3 separate regions of the Homo sapiens genome follow, and all the other regions are linked to region 2. Evidence: promoter capture Hi-C in human tissues and cell types (Jung and others, 2019). All regions are on one chromosome and are shown on one strand. Each heading gives the region's core, a stretch centred on a gene start or on the middle of the fragment in contact. The rest is flanking DNA. Distances are from core to core; before and after follow the strand shown.

Region 1 (2,700 bases), core at 52-2,551, 170 kb after region 2:
CAAAAATGACATATCCGTGTCTCCTTGTGTCCACACAAGCTGTTCTTCAGCATAGAGTGGGTCCAACCCAGCTTCCATCTGGTGCATTCCTAACCATCCTTCAGGAGTCAGCCAGGGCATCATCTCCCCAACAAGCCTCTTCCATGACCTCAGCAGGCAGGTGCTGGAGAGGGTCCCACTGGTGCTTTCTCACAGTTCCAACAGCTGAACACACAGTGGCTGTCATCCTGGGATGCTCACAGCATTCACATGCATGGGGAGCTTCTAAAAACCACAGGTTCACTGGGTGTGGTGGCTCATGCTTGTAATCTCAACACTTTGGGAGGCCAAGCCGGGCAGATCATGAGATCAGGAGTTCGAGACCAGCTTGGCCAATATTGTGAAACCCCATCTGTACTAAAAATACAAAAATTAGCAGGGTGTGTCGGTGGGTGCCTGTAATCCCAGCTACTCAGGAGGCTGAGGCAGGAGAATTGCTTGAATCTGGGAGGTGGAGGTTGCAGTGAGCCAAGATCGGGCCATTGCACTCCAACTCCAGCCTGGGTGACAGAGTGAGACTCCGACTCAAGAAACAAACAAACAAACAAAACCCCCACAGGTTCCTGGGCCTACCAGAAATGAGAAGGGCTTGCCCAGGGGCCTAACAATGAGGAGGCAGGGACCATTGAGGGCCATCTGGAGAGAATCCAAAGTGTCCCATCAATCCAGAGACATGAAAAAAAGGCATCATGCCCAACTCATTCCATGAGGGCCATAACCACATGATCCAAATCAGAAAAAAATCAGGACTGCAAAGGAAGATGGCATGCCAGTCTCATTGATGAGCATCAGTGCAAAAATCCTAAACAAAACAGTAGCAAGCCACAGACAGCAATGATCAAAGATGACACACCATGACCAAGTTGAATTTAAACCTGAGACTCAAGAATGGTTAACAGAGAAATAGTATAAATACCAATGATATCGTCAACAGGTTAAAGGAGAATGGTTATAAGATCATCTCAATGGTTTTAGGAAAAGGCTTTGATAGTTCAATAACAATATATTAATAATATATGATAATAATATTCAACTTTCATTTATGATATAAAAACCTTCAACAACTAATAGCAGGGAATTTTCTTAATCTGATGAAAGCATCTACCAAAAAAAACTTAGAGAAAACATTATTCTTAGTAGTATAAAAGCATTATGCTCTTATACCTTCTTAGTGTTTACCATGTGCACATATTACCTTTTCAAAACTAGTAACATTTTTTTTAAACAAAAAAAATCCTATCAATTAACTTACTTTTTTCTGTAATTGAAAAGAATATGATAGCTTGTTCTTGTCAGAAGTTCAGCTTGTGATTCACCTGGGGTCAACACAGGACAAGGTTTAATAATCACTGAAATAATTAAACTTTGTAATGCCTCATGAGGCTGCTTGAACCGACATGATTTCAAGGGCACCGAGAGGCTGGAGGAAAGCAGAGGGTCAGCAAGTTCATTCAGCTGAGATCATCTCAGTTTACAAACTGGGCTTTATGACCTTTAATTGGGACATGAGTTTCTTTGATAATCAAATGAAAGGAATGAACCATCTCTCTAGAATAAACCAGCAACCAGCATTTTTGCATGAAGTTCCAAGGGGACCCCAGAGAGACATGTTACTAGGAAGCTTGCCAAACCCAGTGACTTTCCAGGGGACCTGCCCACCCAAGTGCAGCCCACGCCTGACACCCAGCCCTCAATGCCCTATTCTGATCGGTTACATGGTTATCTCCAGGACCATGGGGCCCTCTCTATCAGTGTGAATGGGTTCTCCACTGTGCCCTGTGCTATGACACAACACAGGGCAACAGAACCATAAGGGAAGGTGTGAACAAGACCTTTGCAGACAGAGCCATACTGAAACCCTAGGTAGGGTACTTCACCACACGGAGGGAACTGGAGAGACACCAGGAGTTCTGGGAAGGCAGAGATAAGGGGATCTGGAACTACCTGGGGTGAAGTCTTCCTAAAGGAGTGACTGTTTGCATTATCATAGAGAAGTGTTTGGACAGAAGAAGGGAAAGTGAGAAGCATTTCAGGCTGTGAGAATGGTCCAGCTTTTTTTAGTAATAAAAAAATAGAAAACGTAGAAATTACTTTTAACTCTGTGTATTGAATACGCAAGAAATGGCATCCCAATCCTTTTCTTTACTATTATTTTTGTTATTTAGACAGTCTTGCTGCATTGCCCAGGCTGGAGTACAATGGCACAATCATGGCTCACCGCCACCGCAGCCTCCCAGGCTCAAGCAATTCTCCTGCCTCAGCCTCCTGAGTAGCTGGGACAACAGGCATGCATCACCATGCCTGGCTAATTTTTTGATGTTTTGTAGACATGAAGTCTGGTATTGAACTGACTTGCCTAGGATGGTCTTGAACTTCTGGCTTCAAATGATCCTCCTGTCTCAGCCTTGCAAAGCACTGGGATTACAGGCATGAACCACTGAGCCCAGCCACTTTATTATGAACAAGGTTGAATATTTCTGTATTTTTGACAGCTGCATTTCTTCTTTGATAAAATGTTCATGTCCTTTGCCCTTGTGATACCTGTTGGAGTTGCTTTGTTTTTCATGTCAAGCTATAATAAATATAATTTAACTGGCAAAGAGAGAAAGGCCCAGCTTAACCCTTATTATCATTGTTGAGTCATTTTTTGGTTGCAAGGTA
Region 2 (2,700 bases), core at 25-2,524:
TGTGGTGGCTCATGCCTGTAGTCCCAGCTATTTGGGAAGCTGAGGTGGATTGCTTGAACCCAGGAGTTGGAAGCTGTAGTGAGCTATGATAGCACCGCTGTACTCCAGCCTAGGTGACACAGCAAGACCTCGTCTCTTAAAAAACAAAACAAAACAAAACAAAAAAACAACAACTGTGGATTTTGTAGCACATTAGAAACAGCTGAAAAGTGGATTATTAATAAAAAGGTGAAGACATAAACCCAAGTCAAATATGGGCAGACAAGAAAAATATGAAAGTGGGACAGAGACATGGAGGATAAAGTGAGATGGTCTAACACCTATGTTATATTCTAGGAGTTCATTTACTCTATAAGTGTATATTTTTAGCAAATATTGTACCAGACACTTTGCAAAGTGCTGGAGAAGAGTAAGACAAGAGGGTTTCCTGTTTCCTGAGTGGATTCTGGAGTAACACTGGGCCACCCAGTTGAGACAGACTGCCTTCAGGCTGGACGCGGTGGCTTGCGCCTGCAGTCCTAGCACTTTGGGAGGCCAAGGGGGGAAGATCGCTTGAGTCCAGAAGTTGGAGACCAGATTGGGCAACATAGAGAGATCCCCCTCTCTGCAAAAAATTGAAAAAAAGTCCCAGCTACCCAGGAGACTGAGGTGGGAGGATTGCTTGAACTCAGGGCTTCGAGGTTGCAGTGAGCTATGATCTCACCACTGCACTCCATCCTGGGAGACAGAACAAGACTTCTCTCTCTCTTTCTCAAAAAACACAAACAAACAAACAAACAAAAACCCCCCACAAAAAACAGCTCCGATGCTGGCTCCTCCAGGAAGCCTTCCCTGACTACACATACACACACGCACGCACACTACCCGGGGTCAGGAGCCTCTTAAGTGAGCCGGTTAGATCCAGTGCGCCCCCTATCTCCTCTGCCCCTACGCCTCGCGCAAGGCCCTCGCAGCCGGAATAGTCGCGCATTGACCGACTGGACTCTAAAGCCCCTTGGGGCAGGTGCTGTGTCCAGTAGTGTATCTGGCGATGCACCGAGTCCTTTCCACGGAGGGCAAGCAGGTGAAATGGCACGGAAGTGGAAGGGGCCTAGCCACAGAGCGCCTCGAGCTGGGCAGTCAATCCTGGGGAAGCCCTGGTGGTCTTCGCCTCGCCGGGTTCGGAACAGCAGGCTGGGATCAGCAACCATCGAGACGCATCCGCCGAGACCTCCGAGCATCCTAGAGAGGACACGGAAGCGAGTCTTTCCTTACGCACCTGTCTAACAGCGTCCGCAGCTCACTTCCGGACCGCGGATAGCACTGGCGACCCTAGCGGGTGAGAGGCCCTTCAGGGCCGCGGCGGGTGAGAGCCTCTTCAGGGCCGCAGCGGGTGGCGGGCGAAGTGGTAAACGGGCGCGGGGACGGGTTTTGGTGCCGCTACGGGGCTCGGCGGCAGCGGGGTTGCAGTAGAGCCCGTCTCCCTCCGCTCAGCCCCGGCTGAGGGCGGCAAGTCTCTCAGGAGCTGCCTTCAGCGGCCCCGAGGCCCTGCGGGTCTGGACGCTGAGGGGCCGCCGCGCTGTAGGCTCAGGTAGGAGCGAGGCTGATCCCGCTCTGCCAGGCTTGGCTTAGTGCAGGGCTGGCCACGAACCCGAAGAGATCTTGAACCAAAGCAGAACTCTGTGCAAAGTGAAAGTAATCACATAGGACACTTATTTAAAGAATAGTGATGAGCCAGCCTGGTCAACATAGCGAGACCCTGTCTCTACAAAAATTGAAAAGTAGCCGGGCGTGGTGGCACGCGCCTGAGGTCCCAGCTACTCGGGAGGCTGAGGCAGGAGGATCGCCTGAGCCCAGGAGTTCAAGGTTGCACTGACTTACATTCATGCCGCTGCACTCCAGCCTGGGCAACATGGGGAGACCCTGTCTCTACAAAAATAAATAATTAGCTGGTCATGGTGGCACTCGCCAGTAGTCCCAGCTACTCGGGAGGCTGAGGTGGGAGGATCGCTTGATCCTAGGAGGCAAAGGCTGCAGTGATCGCACCACTGGTCTCCAGCTGGGGTGATAAAACCCTGAGATCCTGTCTCAGAAACAAAACAAAAGAGTCACAATGGGTGGGGGGAGATAAAGAATAGCAATGGGGCAATTTCTATTTGTCAAATGGCAGAGATAAAAGATGAATGAGGATCTTTCTTGCCTCCAGGGAATCTGTTAGAGGGAGACACATGGGTAAACATTTGCACTGTAGTGCATTAAATGCACTAGTGGAGTGAACCAATGCAATAGCTAGAAAGGAATGAAAGAGAAATCTCAATGTTGCAGAGTCAATGAATAGACTGAAAATATAAACTTGGTTTAAGTGGGGGTAGATAAATACACAAACTCACAATAGAATATTTAGCAGAAGCTTTGGGGTGTGCCTCCTGCCAGCTGCCCATTCTCTGCTCCAGTCAGGTGATCTTTCCGTTTTCTGACAAGCAGGATCTCCTTCCCCTGGTGCTTTGGACTTCCAAGTCTGTCTTCCCAGTCTAGGTCTTCCGCATAATCCACTTGGAGGTAAATAGGACTCATTCTCCAGTCTACTTCAAGCCTCTTCTTTTCCTTGAGTACTTGGACTTAGATTAGTTTTCTCTCTTTTTGACTTCACATTTTTTTTTCAATCTGTACCATGTATTTTGGGAGGCAGTTATCATCTAGTCTCTTTTTTTTCTTCTGAGA
Region 3 (2,700 bases), core at 167-2,666, 130 kb after region 2:
CTGGAGGTGGGGCCTGATAGGAGGTGATTGGATCCTAGGGGCAGTTTCTCATGGTTTCACACCATCCTGCCTTCGCTGTTGTCCTCGTGACAATGAGTTTTTATGAGATCTGGTGGTTTATAAGTGTGTGGCTCCTCCTCCCCACCCTCTCTTGCTTCTACTACAGCCATGTAAGATCCGCCTGCTCCTCCTTCACCTTCTGCCATGATTGTAAATTTCCTGAGGCCTCCCTAGAGGCAGAAGTCGCTATGCTTCCTGTAGAGCCTGCAGAACTATGAGCCAATTAAATCTCTTTTCTTTATAAATTACCCAGCCTCAGGTATTTCTTTACAGCAATGCAAGAAATGACTAATATATCCAGACATGCTCATTTTTTCAAGGTGATCAATCACAAAGCAGTCAGTTTATTGCCTCTGTACATTGACTATCTCTGTAGGAAAACCCATTAAGGCTGCTGCTCTTTATGGCAGGCCTGCTTGCAACTCATCTTTGATGGGTCATGTATGGACTCCCCCAACTGGGGGTTCTGGATGTCTGAAGACCTTCCCAGTCTGATGTTACTGAGGAGCGGAGGACTAGAGGAAGAAGAAAGGCTGATGGCAGACATCACCAGCCATCAATTCAACCGTGAATCTGCTAGTCCCACAAGGTTGGCCCCAGAGAGGCAAATTAGGAAAATGCAGCTGAAAAGTATGGTGTATATAAATGGATCCATATGCCTCATATGTGCTTTCAGCTGAAAGGCAGGGGCCTTCTAATGTCCATGTACCTTCCTGTTGATAGCAAAAGATGCAGTATTTTACATAAGTAACCATAAAATGTTCCAGATAGTTGAATTAAGACCTTGTTTTCTCTTCTATAACAGGTAGCACTTAAGGCAGTATAGGTTCCAAACATTCTGTACAAATCCAGTGACTCTGATAATATGTGGTAAAATACAACTGAGAAATGGCATGGAGGGTCGTGTTTGGAGATCCCAGCAGAGGCAGCATATAGTGCATTTGGATCCTTGCCCCAGAATAGTTAGTGGAAGTGTGTGCACCATCTACCAAAACCAGGGTGGCCTTGGGGTTTCCCACCCCAGTTTCTTCCTTTGTTGTCACAGCCATGGCAAATTAATGACACTAATCTCTGCTTCTAAACCTTCTACATGTTACATGATCTCTCAGGCCAGGACAAACTAATGAGTTAATGTGTCAGCAGCATTGGCCCCCAGGGAAAGATCTAGGTGAGTGTCTAGACTCACATGGTTCCATGTCAAGGCAGAGGCTGTGCTGGGCAAACTGTTTAGTTTCTTTCCAGCTCTCCTCTGTTTGGTAGAGTAATGCCACTTTCAGTTCCAATGAAGAGGCTAACAGAAAAGCCCGTCATCTATTGCATGTAATTGTGTTGGCCTAAGGAGGGCACGGTCTACACTATAGTTTCTGATTCCTGGGCTACACTAGCATCGTCTAAGGCTAAGGTATTGTCTGCCCAGCTGCCCGAGTCTGTAGTGGCCTCCCCACAACATGGCAGACCACACACAGAGTGACACATTTGATGTCCCTGTATCCAGGCTTGAAGCAGATGAGATGCCAATCTGTTTGCCCTTTGAGTGACCTCCACTGTGGGGCCAGGACCCATGAATATCTCTTTGGAGTTCTACCCTGAGAGCTGAGGAATATTTTCTCACTTCATGCAGATCCTATCTGGATGCCTTTGCTATCATCACTAGCTCACAGTATTGCTTACTCCCCTGCCTGAGAGTTTAAGGTAGCCTGCTAAGCAGGTATATTCAAAAAGGAGGTATTACAATAAACTGTCAGGCATGTATATTTAAAAAGACATATGCAGTCTTGTCTTAGAGATATACATTCATGTATTAGACTCATATTCCTGATATTATTCTGGAAAGGTGATGTTATTTTACACACATTTATTGTCACAAATACTGAACTAACAGCCCTCTTTTATCATCCAGAAGGAACATGCTGGAAATAGTCTATCTCCAAAAAATTCTGGTTTAAAAATGAATGAATTTAAACCATATCAATTTATTTTAAAATGTTAGAAAATGGAAACTATGTTGCCACTATTCACTGAATTCCTAAGCTTTCTGTGAAAGAATTAAAATTAGTTTTATAGTGTCTATTTTCATGTCATTGTGGTTCCCTGCTCTTAATAAAAGTCAAATTGAGGTAGAAGTTAATGGAACAGGTGGAGCCTCCACTACCCACAGTGGGAAGTAACTCTTCTCTCCACCTGCTCTAGGATGCCAGGAATCCCACCAGTGAGAGGGTTCATCCTCCTTTACTGTAACACAAAGGGGAAAAAATGTGTAAAATCCAAATTGGCTTTCACAGCTCCTGCCTTTTCAGGCTGCTAGCAGATTCCCATTAGGTGAGAAACAAAGCTCTATATTAATGCTAGCCTCCCAGAGACGGGAGGAAAAAGATTAAAGCAAAGAATAAATCTTCAAAACTTCCTCCAAGTCTCCTTTGCTCTGGAGATTAATCATTGCAAGGTAAATAGTTCTGTGTATGACAGGGTGGAGGAGTGAGTCATAGGTGGGAGGGGATGTTTTGGGACATGGCACAGGAAAGAGGGAAGAGCCGGGGGACAGCTTCCCGTGAAGTCTTGGTGTTCCCCGGTGCGTTATGTAAATGATATCCTGGGGTGGAAGTTGGGGGAGCAGGAACCACCAGGTCCACAGGGGACAAA

The links. Contacts are between HindIII fragments. The study calls those that stand out against the background at their distance.
Region 1: a contact is called between a fragment that was not itself captured here and the fragment with the promoter of ZSCAN25 in region 2, in 1 of the 25 tissues and cell types used here (lymphoblastoid cells).
Region 3: a contact is called between a fragment that was not itself captured here and the fragment with the promoter of ZSCAN25 in region 2, in 1 of the 25 tissues and cell types used here (aorta).

The regions. Positions count from the first base shown.
Region 1 is chr7:99,790,415-99,793,114 of GRCh38, forward strand. No RefSeq gene overlaps it. Among named protein-coding and RNA genes, the nearest start is that of CYP3A4, 7.6 kb to the left of the region's middle. RefSeq lists a promoter at 1-2,700, enhancers at 1-1,592, 1,475-1,489, 2,594-2,700 and a cis regulatory region at 1,026-1,046. The HindIII fragment of the contact is 3,979 bases long and covers 1-2,700 here.
Region 2 is chr7:99,615,672-99,618,371 of GRCh38, forward strand. ZSCAN25 (zinc finger and SCAN domain containing 25) reads left to right here and starts at 1,275. Exons shown (of 8, transcript NM_145115.3): 1 at 1,275-1,345. RefSeq lists enhancers at 421-1,400, 991-1,310. The HindIII fragment of the contact is 7,246 bases long and covers 1,089-2,700 here.
Region 3 is chr7:99,749,263-99,751,962 of GRCh38, forward strand. It overlaps the pseudogene CYP3AP2. Among named protein-coding and RNA genes, the nearest start is that of CYP3A4-AS1, 13 kb to the right of the region's middle. The HindIII fragment of the contact is 4,835 bases long and covers 1-2,700 here.